Regions from separate parts of the Homo sapiens genome. Here regions 2 and 3 are each linked to region 1. Evidence: promoter capture Hi-C in 16 types of primary human blood cells and fetal thymus (Javierre and others, 2016). All regions are on one chromosome and are shown on one strand. Each heading gives the region's core, a stretch centred on a gene start or on the middle of the fragment in contact. The rest is flanking DNA. Distances are from core to core; before and after follow the strand shown.

Evidence for each region. Contacts are between HindIII fragments. The CHiCAGO score rates a contact against its expected background, and 5 or more counts as called.
Region 2: a contact is called between a fragment that was not itself captured here and the fragment with the promoter of PHLPP2 in region 1, in 2 of 17 cell types (naive B cells and total B cells). The highest score is 6.1, in naive B cells.
Region 3: a fragment that was not itself captured here is called in contact with the fragment with the promoter of PHLPP2 in region 1 in 5 of 17 cell types (total CD8 T cells, total CD4 T cells, activated CD4 T cells and 2 more); the score reaches 8.0 in total CD8 T cells.

The regions. Positions count from the first base shown.
Region 1 is chr16:71,723,209-71,726,364 of GRCh38, forward strand. It overlaps PHLPP2 (PH domain and leucine rich repeat protein phosphatase 2), which reads right to left and starts at 1,493. Exons shown (of 19, transcript NM_015020.3): 1 at 1,121-1,493. RefSeq lists an enhancer at 1-331 and a silencer at 97-1,066. The HindIII fragment of the contact is 20,650 bases long and covers 1-3,156 here.
Region 2 is chr16:71,413,719-71,416,874 of GRCh38, forward strand. LINC02136 (long intergenic non-protein coding RNA 2136) reads right to left here. Exons shown (of 3, transcript NR_146574.1): 2 at 1,147-1,277. Among named protein-coding and RNA genes, the nearest start is that of LINC02136, 11 kb to the right of the region's middle. The HindIII fragment of the contact is 4,748 bases long and covers 1-3,156 here.
Region 3 is chr16:71,982,677-71,985,832 of GRCh38, forward strand. PKD1L3 (polycystin 1 like 3, transient receptor potential channel interacting) reads right to left here. Exons shown (of 30, transcript NM_181536.2): 6 at 1,360-1,491. Among named protein-coding and RNA genes, the nearest start is that of PKD1L3, 16 kb to the right of the region's middle. The HindIII fragment of the contact is 222 bases long and covers 1,417-1,638 here.

The sequences.
Region 1 (3,156 bases), core at 243-2,742:
GGCTGGCACCTCGGGTAGCGAGCCCCGAGGGCAGAGGAGCCGGCTCCACCCGGCCTGGCCCCGAACCCTCCGCGGCGCCGGCCAATCGCCGCTGCCATCCTCCCGCTGGGGTGATGTCTTCAGGTGTCCGGGAGGGGAGAAAGCCCTGCGTACTTCCAGCCCCGCTCCTGTGCCAGGAACCGGCGGCCCTCCGAGCCCTCCGGAGCCGGCCTCCGGGCCCCGAGCGCGGCGAGGCAAGCAGGGGCGGCGAAGGGTCCGGGTGGGCGGCGGCTACCCGCAGCCCAAAGGCGTGGGCCTGCGAGGCGGGCGGCGCGCGGCCAGGGATGGGCAGCAGCGGGGTACCGAGGCGCCGAGGCCTGGACGCGGGCGCGGCGCGGAGGCCTCGGCGTCCCCAGCCGGGTGTGGGGCGGCCGACTGACTGACGCCGGGCGGGGGCCGCCGACTGCCTCAGCCACTGCGCGGGGCGGGGGCGGCAGCGGCCTCTAGCCTCCCTCGTTCCCTCCCTAGTCCGCTTGCCCGCTCGCCCGCTCGCTCGCTCGCTGGTCCATCCGCCTCCTCACCTTCAGGACCCGGATCCCTCCCGGCCGGCGGCTCGCGGGCGCTTCGGGCGGCTCCGGGGGCTCCAGCGGGCCCGCGGGCCCCGGCTCCACCTCCCCCATCGGCGACCCAGGATTCACAGAGACGCCCGGCCCGCGCGACGGCGTGCGGAGCCTCGGCGGCGCGCGCGAGCAACCGGTGGCCCCGCCCCCCGCGGCCCGCCGGCTCCGCCCCTCCGGCGGCTCGCCAGCTCCGCCCCTCCCGCAGCCCCGCTGGACCTAAGCAGCTGCCGGCGCCGAGTGGCCCGGGCGCCACCGAGCCGCATTCCGGCCGCGGCCCGCGTGGCGGAACCTGGCACCACCGCAGAGCGCTGGGCCTCCACTGCCCGCCGCCCTAGGCTTGGAGGACTAGAGCGCAAGGAGGGGTATTTGCTGCTTTCCCCGCCCTCTAAGAAACCCGCGGGAGAAAGAAGCAGGTGGCGCCGGCACCTGTCAATTGTGACAAGACGCTGCCCTCCGCCAGGGTGGCTCTTGTAACTTCCCTCACCTGCCAAGCCGTTGAACGAACTGTTGAGAATACTCACCTTGGCAAGGCCTTTTCTCTTCCTTATCAGAGATGCGTGCGACCTTCTTAAGCAAATTCAACCCAACCTCGTACAAAACGTCCGCTCACCTCCCAGCCATGTTTTAATTCCCTTGCCTCCTCCTGGAGCAAAATTATCAGAATTCGGTGCTCTGCTTCAAGCAGTAATATGGCCTGTGACCCGGTTTATGATTTATTTGCAAGGCTGATTCAGAAAAAAACTTTTAAAAGTTAACTTCTTTTCTTTTCTTTGTTTTGTTTTTCTTTTCGTTCTCGCAGTGATAGTAGTTTTGTTGCCAATGGGCCAAATTTGGAGTCAGCCAGCCTGTTTCCAGATCTCCCCTCTGCCCTTCTTTAGATCTATACCCCTGTGCAAGTTACTTGATCTAAGCCTTTCGTTCTTAAGCTGTGAGAAAGAGATTAAAATCTGCCAAGTAGTTATGATGAAGATTTAGTGCATACAAAGTGCCTAACGTATAGTGGGGATCCATAGTAGCCATTATAATTCCAAAATTCTAAATTGAAGATCCAATCGGTTTCTCGAAAAGTACTCTGTCGATTCCTCCTAAATTTTCCTAGGAAGGCTTCTAGACTTCCAGATTTTTAGGGCTTCCCCTCATACATAGGGTGTTGAATCTTCAAGCAACTTGTAAGGAATTAGACAGCAAAAAACAGTAATTTCTTCACTTTCATAGAACTGTAATTCCAGTACTTTGGGAAGCCAAGGCAGGCAGATTACTTGAGGCCAGGAGTCCGAGACCAGCCTGACCAACATAGCGAAACCCTGTCTATACCAAAAATACAAAAAAATGAGCTGGGCAGGGTGGCGCACGCCTGTAATCCCAGCCACTTGGGAGGTGGAGGCAGGAGAATCGCTTGAACCCGGGAGGCGGAGGTTGCAGTGAGACGAGATCGTGCCACTGCACTCCAGCCTGGGTGACAAAGCAGGACCCTTTGTCCCTATTATCCATTGCTTCAGTTTGCCTCATTCAGACTAACTGTATGTCTAGAATAATTGCAGGCTTAGTACAAGACTTTTAGATTTAACAGAGCAGTCTGTGTCCCCCATCTGAGATATGTATCCATTTGGAGATATTTTAAATGCCAGGACCAAATTTGGCTCTTGCAGGTTCCGACCCCTTTCTGACCTACTTTCTCCCTTCACAAGTTAGCTTTGTATATACCAAAATTCCAATCTCCAGTAATCTTCATTTCTTGGCCTCATTTTAATGCATTAAAAACGATTTGTCACTGTGAGTCTGGTTTAAGGTGGGAGAAAACTCTTAGGTCATCCACCTCCTGGATTTTCCTTCCACCTTGAAATTATTTTCAGGAAAGGTACTCAAAGTAGTTGGATTCCCATTTCAGTGCTTACTGGGTAATTTCTCCCAACAAGAAAACTGGTATATAAGCAATAGGCACCAATATGGAGACAGAAGCAAATTTTAACAAGGGCAGGCAAGCAGTGATAAGAAAAAAATGTGGTTTAGAACAAGTGTTTCTGGCTGGGTGCAGTGGCTCATGCCTGTAATTCAGCACTTTGGGAGGCCAAGACGGGCAGATCACCTGAGGTCAGGAGTTTGAACCCAGCCTGGCCAACATGGCAAAACCCCATCTCTACTAAAAATACAAAAATTAGGCAGTGTGGGGGCACGAGCCTGTAGGCCCAGCTACTCAGGAGGCTGAGGCAGGAGAATCACTTGAACTTGGGAGGTGGAGGTTGCAGTGAGCCGAGATATCGCGCCACTGCACTGCAGTCTGGGTGACAGAGGGAGACTCTTGTCTCAAGGAAAAAAAAAAGTGTTTTTCAAAAGCCTTTTATATTTTTTTTATTTTTGAGACAGGGTCTCGCTTTGTTGCTCAGGCTGGAGTACGGTATGGACACAATCATAGCTCACTGCAGGTTCAACCTCCATGGGCTAAGGTGATCATGCCACCTCAGCCTCCCAGTAGCTGGGACCACAAGTGAGCACCACCCTACGCTTGGCTACTTTTTGCATTTTTTTTGTAGAGATGGGGCTTCACCATATTGTCCAA
Region 2 (3,156 bases), core at 330-2,829, 310 kb before region 1:
CTCTGGACAGACGCACTTGGTATCAGTCAAACACAACCTCTTACCTTGAGTCACGTACTAGAACCATCTCTAAATCTAGCAAAACAGAGGAGGGAGAAAAAGACTAGTTTGGATACGTAGCCTGGAAAGGTTTCCTGCAGTCCAGGCAGTGCAGGAGGAGGGTGGGTTAGGTTTCAGGGGCCAGTGGAGGAGGGGGCTGCATTTCAGACCAAAAGACCAAGATGAATGAAGGGTATAGATATACAGGAAAGGATCCACATGACCAGGGCATAGGTAAGGGCTGGGAAGTTGTGGGAGATAAAGCTGGGATGGGACAGGGGCTCGCGGCACAGACCAGACCCTAAAAGCAGGCAGAGCACTTGGCCAGGTAGAACCAATTCAGACCCTGGGCTGGAGGCCACAGAGAGCCATGGAAAGTGTTTGAGCCAGGAGAGGAGTCTGGGCCTTGGAAAGACCTTCCAGCATCAGTCCTGTCAGGTTTTGGAGATGATGCAATGAAGAGAGAGGCTACAGGAACCCTCATCCTGAGAGCTCACTGAGTACACGGATCAAGGCTCATTCATCTCAAGGTCACCAGCATTTGCCAGAGTATTAGCCCCTGGAAGGTGACCTGCAAACAACCATCTCTAAGGGAGACCAGCCTTTAACCCAAGGATGATTTCATTCTTAAGGTCCAGGCTGGGCACGGTGGCTCACGCCTGGAATCCCAACAGTTTGGGAGGCCGAGGCAGGCGGATCACTTGAGACCAGGGGTTTGAGACCAGCCTGGGCAACCTAGTGAAACCCTATCTCCACACACACAAATATATATATATATATATATATATATATATCCGAGTGTGGTGGCACATGCCTGTACTCACAGATACTTGGGGGGCTGAGGTAGAAAGATTGCTTGAGCCTGGAAGGCGGAGGTTGCAGTAAGTCAGGATCGTGCCACTGCACTTTGGGCTGTGTGACAGAGCAAGACCTCATCTCAAAAAAAGTAAAATAATTAATAAATAAATAAAACTTAAGGTCCAGAACAGGAAACGTAGGTCATACTCTTGGGACCTTGAGCTTGTTACACTGTGGGGTGGGGATGACCATAGAAATTCCCTTGTGAGATTACAGTGAGACTCACCTGTGATAATGCGTGTTACCTACCTGGCATCTAGGTGAGGCTCAATGTCATGGCAACTCCATTCTACCTGCTTTTCCCAGGGCTTCTGTGACTTTGCACCATCGTAGTAGTCTCTGGAGCCCCTTGAGATTTCCCTTCAATCTCTTCTTGCCTCCTAATTAACAGCAGCATTTATTGAATGCTTTGACCATATTAAAACACTTTGCATATGTGAACTCGTTTGGTCCTACAGTCATGCCTTGATTCATTCTCTAAATTTTTATTTATTTATTTATTTTTTGAGACAGAGTTTTGCTCTTGTTACCCAGGCTGGAGTGCAGTGGCATGATCTTGGCTCACTGCAACCTCCCCACCTTCTGGTTTCAAGCGATTCTCCTGCCTCAGCCTCCCAAGGATTACAGGCGCCCGCCACCATGCCTGGCTAATTTTTGTATTTTTAGTAGAGATGGGGTTTCACCACATTGGCCAGGCTGGTCTCAAACTCCTGACCTCATGATCCACCCGCCTTGGCCTCCCAAAATGCTGGGATTATAGGTGTGAGCCACCGCACCCGGCCCCATTCCCCAATTGAAAGATGAGAAAACTCAAGGGCAGAGCTGGCACATGAGCATAACAGGGACTTGAATCTGATTACTGGCTCAAGCACCCCTCTCCTAACTACTCTTTCTCATGGCCTCCAATGTGTGACTGACCAAGACTCTCCCCTGGCCACTCCATGACCCTCAGGCCACGATCTCCCTCCATAACTCCTTCTCTGACAGTTGAGGGGGCAAATCTCAAGTCTTTGTTCTGAGCCTTGGTCTTCTCCTTTGACCAACATAACCACATGTCCAGAGACCAGTGGGCTAGATCCACATGGACATCTGTCTTCACCTGAAACCCAACCAGCCCCAACTCTAGTCTGAGCCTTGGGCAGCTTGCCCTTGGTCCCTCCACTACAGTACTGAGTTCATTCTCTCCGGAAGTCTAGTTCATCAAGGCCCTGCTGGTTTCCACCCAGGACTGTGGGATCCTGGAGGACAGGCATCTGTCCTCAGGTGCCTCTCACAGCCCCAAGCACAGTAAGTGCTGGACTTACCTCTTCTCTAGCCAGCATCCCTCCCAATTCACCTATTTCAGCTCACAGTGCTACCCTCCATCCCTTGACCCATCCCTCTCCAACAGCTGCCTCATCCCCCAATGGTCCTCTCTGCTCAGAACCACTTTCACCTGCCTCTTAGATTGTTCACTCCCTGACATTCCACCCCACCAACTGCTCCTCCCTGCCCTCCAGCAGGCTCAGGTGAAATCCAACCCCACCCGTTTTTATTTATTTTTTGAGACAGGGTCTCCCTCTGTCATCCAGGCTGGAGTGCAGTGGCACGATCATGGCTCACTACAGCCTCAACCTCCCTGGGTCAAGTGATCCTCCCACCTCACCCCCCCACAAGTAGCTGGAACTAGAGACACGCACTACCACACCTGGCTAGTTTTTTAATTTTTTGTAGAGATGCGGTCTTATCATGTTGCCCAGGCTGGTCTCAAACTCCTGGGCTCAAGTGATCCTCCTGGTTCAGCTTCCAAAGTGCTTGGATTATAGGCATGAGCCACCGCACCCAGCCTACCCCTTGAAATTTAACCATACTCTGTCCCCATTCAAGTTAGTTTCTGTGACTTTCCCAGTGAACTGGAAACTCCTTGGGGGAAGGAACTGTGTCTACTTATTTTTGTCCCCACAACACTGTCCCAGTAACTGGCATATGTTTGAGGACCATTTTAATGTGTGTGTGAATTGTCCAAGTCTTTTCTCTTTTTTCTGTGGAGTATTTCATCCTCTGTCCCTCAATTTTTAAGAGTTCTGTATATATAAGGGAGATTAGCCCTTTGTCTGTGGTATGTGTTACAAATATTTTCTCTCAATTTTTCAGTTACTTTGGTTTCTGTGGTTTGGGTTTTTTGTTTTGTCTGGTTTGGTTTGGTTTGGTTTGCCATGTCCAATTTGCCAGAATTTTATTTCATTGCTTCTGGATTCTGAGTGATGCTTTCAAATCCTT
Region 3 (3,156 bases), core at 278-2,777, 260 kb after region 1:
GCCTCGAACTTCTGGACTCAAGCAATCCTCCTTCCTCAGCCTCCCCAGTAGCTAGGACACAGGTGGGTACCACCACACCTAATTTTTAAAAATTTTTTGTAGAGGCAGGGGCTCACTGTATTGCCCAGGCTGGTCTCAAACACCTGGCCCCAAGAGATCCTCCTGTCTTGGCCTCCCAAAGTGTTTAGATTACAGACATGAGCCACACACCTAGCACATGATTATTTTCAATTTGCATACTTCTTATTAGCAGCTTAATATTCGTTATACATTTCAAATGCATTTTATAAAAAAAAAGTTACAATTTGACAGGGAAGGAGAATATATTATTTCATATAACCTATAAGGGAGGATTCATATTTCATGTTATTCTGACAAACTGACAATTCTTTTTGAGTGGTGAGTAGACCAAATATCCAATTAATACCATCAGACTAAAAAAAGGAATGAAGAAAAGACCAATGCTGAGTTTTTTGTCTTTTTAATTTCAGACAGAGTGTGGCTCTGTCACCCAGGCTGGAGTGCAGTGGCAGAGTCTTGGCTCACTGCAACCTCCACCTTCCGGGCTCAAACCATCCTCCCATCTCAGCCTCCCAAGTAGCTGCAACTACAGGTGAGCACCACCACACCCAGTTAAGTTTTGTATTTTTGATAGAGACAGGGTTTCACCATGTTGCCCAGGCTGGTCTCGAACTCCTGGGCTCAAGCTATCCGCCTGATTCAGCCTCCCAAAGTGCTGGGACTACAGGTGGGAGCCAATGTGTTCCACTGAATGCCGACAGACTTCTAACAAATGCATCAGCAAGGCAGTACCAGCTGATTAATCAACAAATGAACATAAACACAGTATATCCAACAATGTCACTACTGATCAATTTAATTCATAACTTTCCAGATTTAAAGGTAAAAAAATATGCTTGCTAAAATTTAAATACAGTCTTTATAATGCTAAGCTTGGCATAAGGCACAATCTCCAGATTCTCTTTCTTTTTTTTTTTTTTTTTTTTTTGGAGACACAGTCTCTCAGCCACCCAGGCTGGAGTGGAGTGGCGGGATCTTGGCTCATTGCCTCTGCCTCCTGGGTTCAAGTGATTATTGTGCCTCAGCCTTCCAAGTAGCTGAGATTACAGGTGCCCGCCACCGAGCCCAGCTAATTTTTGTTTTTTCAGTAGAGACGGGTTTTGCCATGTTGCCCAGTCAGGTCTTGAACTCCTGGCCTCATGTGATCCGCCCGCCTCGGCCTTCTAAAGTGCTGGGATTACAGGCGTGAGCCACCGCACCCAGCCTCAGATTCTCTTTTTCTGTTTTCCGCTTTTCCCTCTCTCCTACCTTCTTCCCTCCCAGTCACCCTCCACTTACCTGAGCTGGCTTAGAAAATCTTGGGGTTAAGGCTGTTAGTTTCTGGAGGAACTCACAAGCTTCCTGTAGTTTGTTAAGAGCTTGCAAACCATGAACTGCTCTGCTGAAGTTCCCTGCTATCTCATCTATGACCTATTGGGAACAAAGAAGTTGTCAAAATTACTCATACAAAATTACTGTACTGTAGTAGTCAGGGAGATTATTTTCATCCAAGTTGACCTTGGGTAACTTTATAAACCCTATGAACCACAGCTCTCTAAAACAGTGATTACTTTCAGAAGCTTTTCTGCGAGTGGACAGAATTTATTTCTACTTCTTCCATACGATAGAGAAAATGAATAACGAGATTATATAATGATTGCTCCAAGGGCAAATGAGTCTGGAAATAAGATTTATAGCAGTAACTTTAAGTGTTAAGGCCATGAAGATGAGGGAAACTTGGAAATTAAAAAGCCAAAACCAAACTTTTCTATTCAGAAGTATGTTTTCCTCTCAGGCTTCCCTGTGTGTGTGTTTCCCTCCATTCAAGTATTCGTATTTAAGGCTGGGCGTGATGGCTCACGCCTGTCATCCCAGCACTTGGGAGGCTAAGGCAGGCAGATCACTTGAGGTCAGGAGTTCAAGAGCAACCTGGCCTACATAGCAAAACCCTGTCTCTACTAAAAATACAAAAATTAACCAGGCTTGGTGGTGTACACCTGTAGTCCCAGCTACTCGGGAGGCTGAGGCAGGAGAATCTCTTGAACCCGGGAGGCAGAGGTTGCAGTGAGCCGAGATTGCGCCACTGCACTCCAGCCTGGGCGACAGATCGAGAATCTGTCTCAAAAAAAGAGTCCATATTCAAGAGGTAATGACTTAAAATGACTCATAGCAAGAGGTGGGAAGCAGAAAACCTCCCTGCCCTAAGAAACAGACTGAGCAAATGGCCGCGGTCCCAAAGCTTAAGTGGCTACTGCACTTGAACTCAAAGTCCAACCCTGAGACAATCACCATTAATGCCAACTACATGGTCCATTTCTGGAGAATACCTCACTCACAGCCTAATTCAACCACATATTCAAGAAATCTTGATTAAATGCTGACATTGCTAAATCCTCTTAATATTTCTAATAATTTATTATAGATCCTTTTAGATATTCTGTACTTCAGGATTTCCAAGAAAAACAAAAACAAAAACAAAAATCTTTGTTTAAACTCCTGTAGGTCAGTTTCTCCCCCAAATAGAACACTGAATTTCCATTACCATTGCAAGCAGATCCAGAGTGAACAGGATTGTTTTAGCAGGGAAATGTTCAACTGCATATAAACAGGGCTCGTTTGAGTTTAGGGAAAAAAAAGCATGAGGGAAGCAGGATTATTTTCTTCAGTCAATACTGTCAAAGGGACTTTGCCTTTTTTTGAGAGAGAGTTTTGTTCTGTTGCCCAGCCTACAGTATACAGTGGCACAATCATGGCTCACTGCAGTCTGGACCTCCCAGGCTCAAGCAACCCTCCCACCTCAGCCCCTGCCCCGCCACCCCCAAGTAGCTGGGACTACAGGCACATGCCACCACACCTGGCTAATTTTTTTTTGAAGTTTAATAGAGAAAAGGTCTCATAAAGTTGCCTAAGCTGGTCTCAAACTCGGGCTTACGTGATCCTCCACCTCGGCCTCCCAAAGTGCTGGAATTACAGGCGTGAGCCACTGTGCCTGGCTAATTTTTTTGAACTTTAGTAGAGAAAGGTCTTGCTACGTTGCCCAGTCTGGTCTAAAACTCCTGGGCTCAAGTGATCCTCTCACCTTGGCCTCCCAAATGC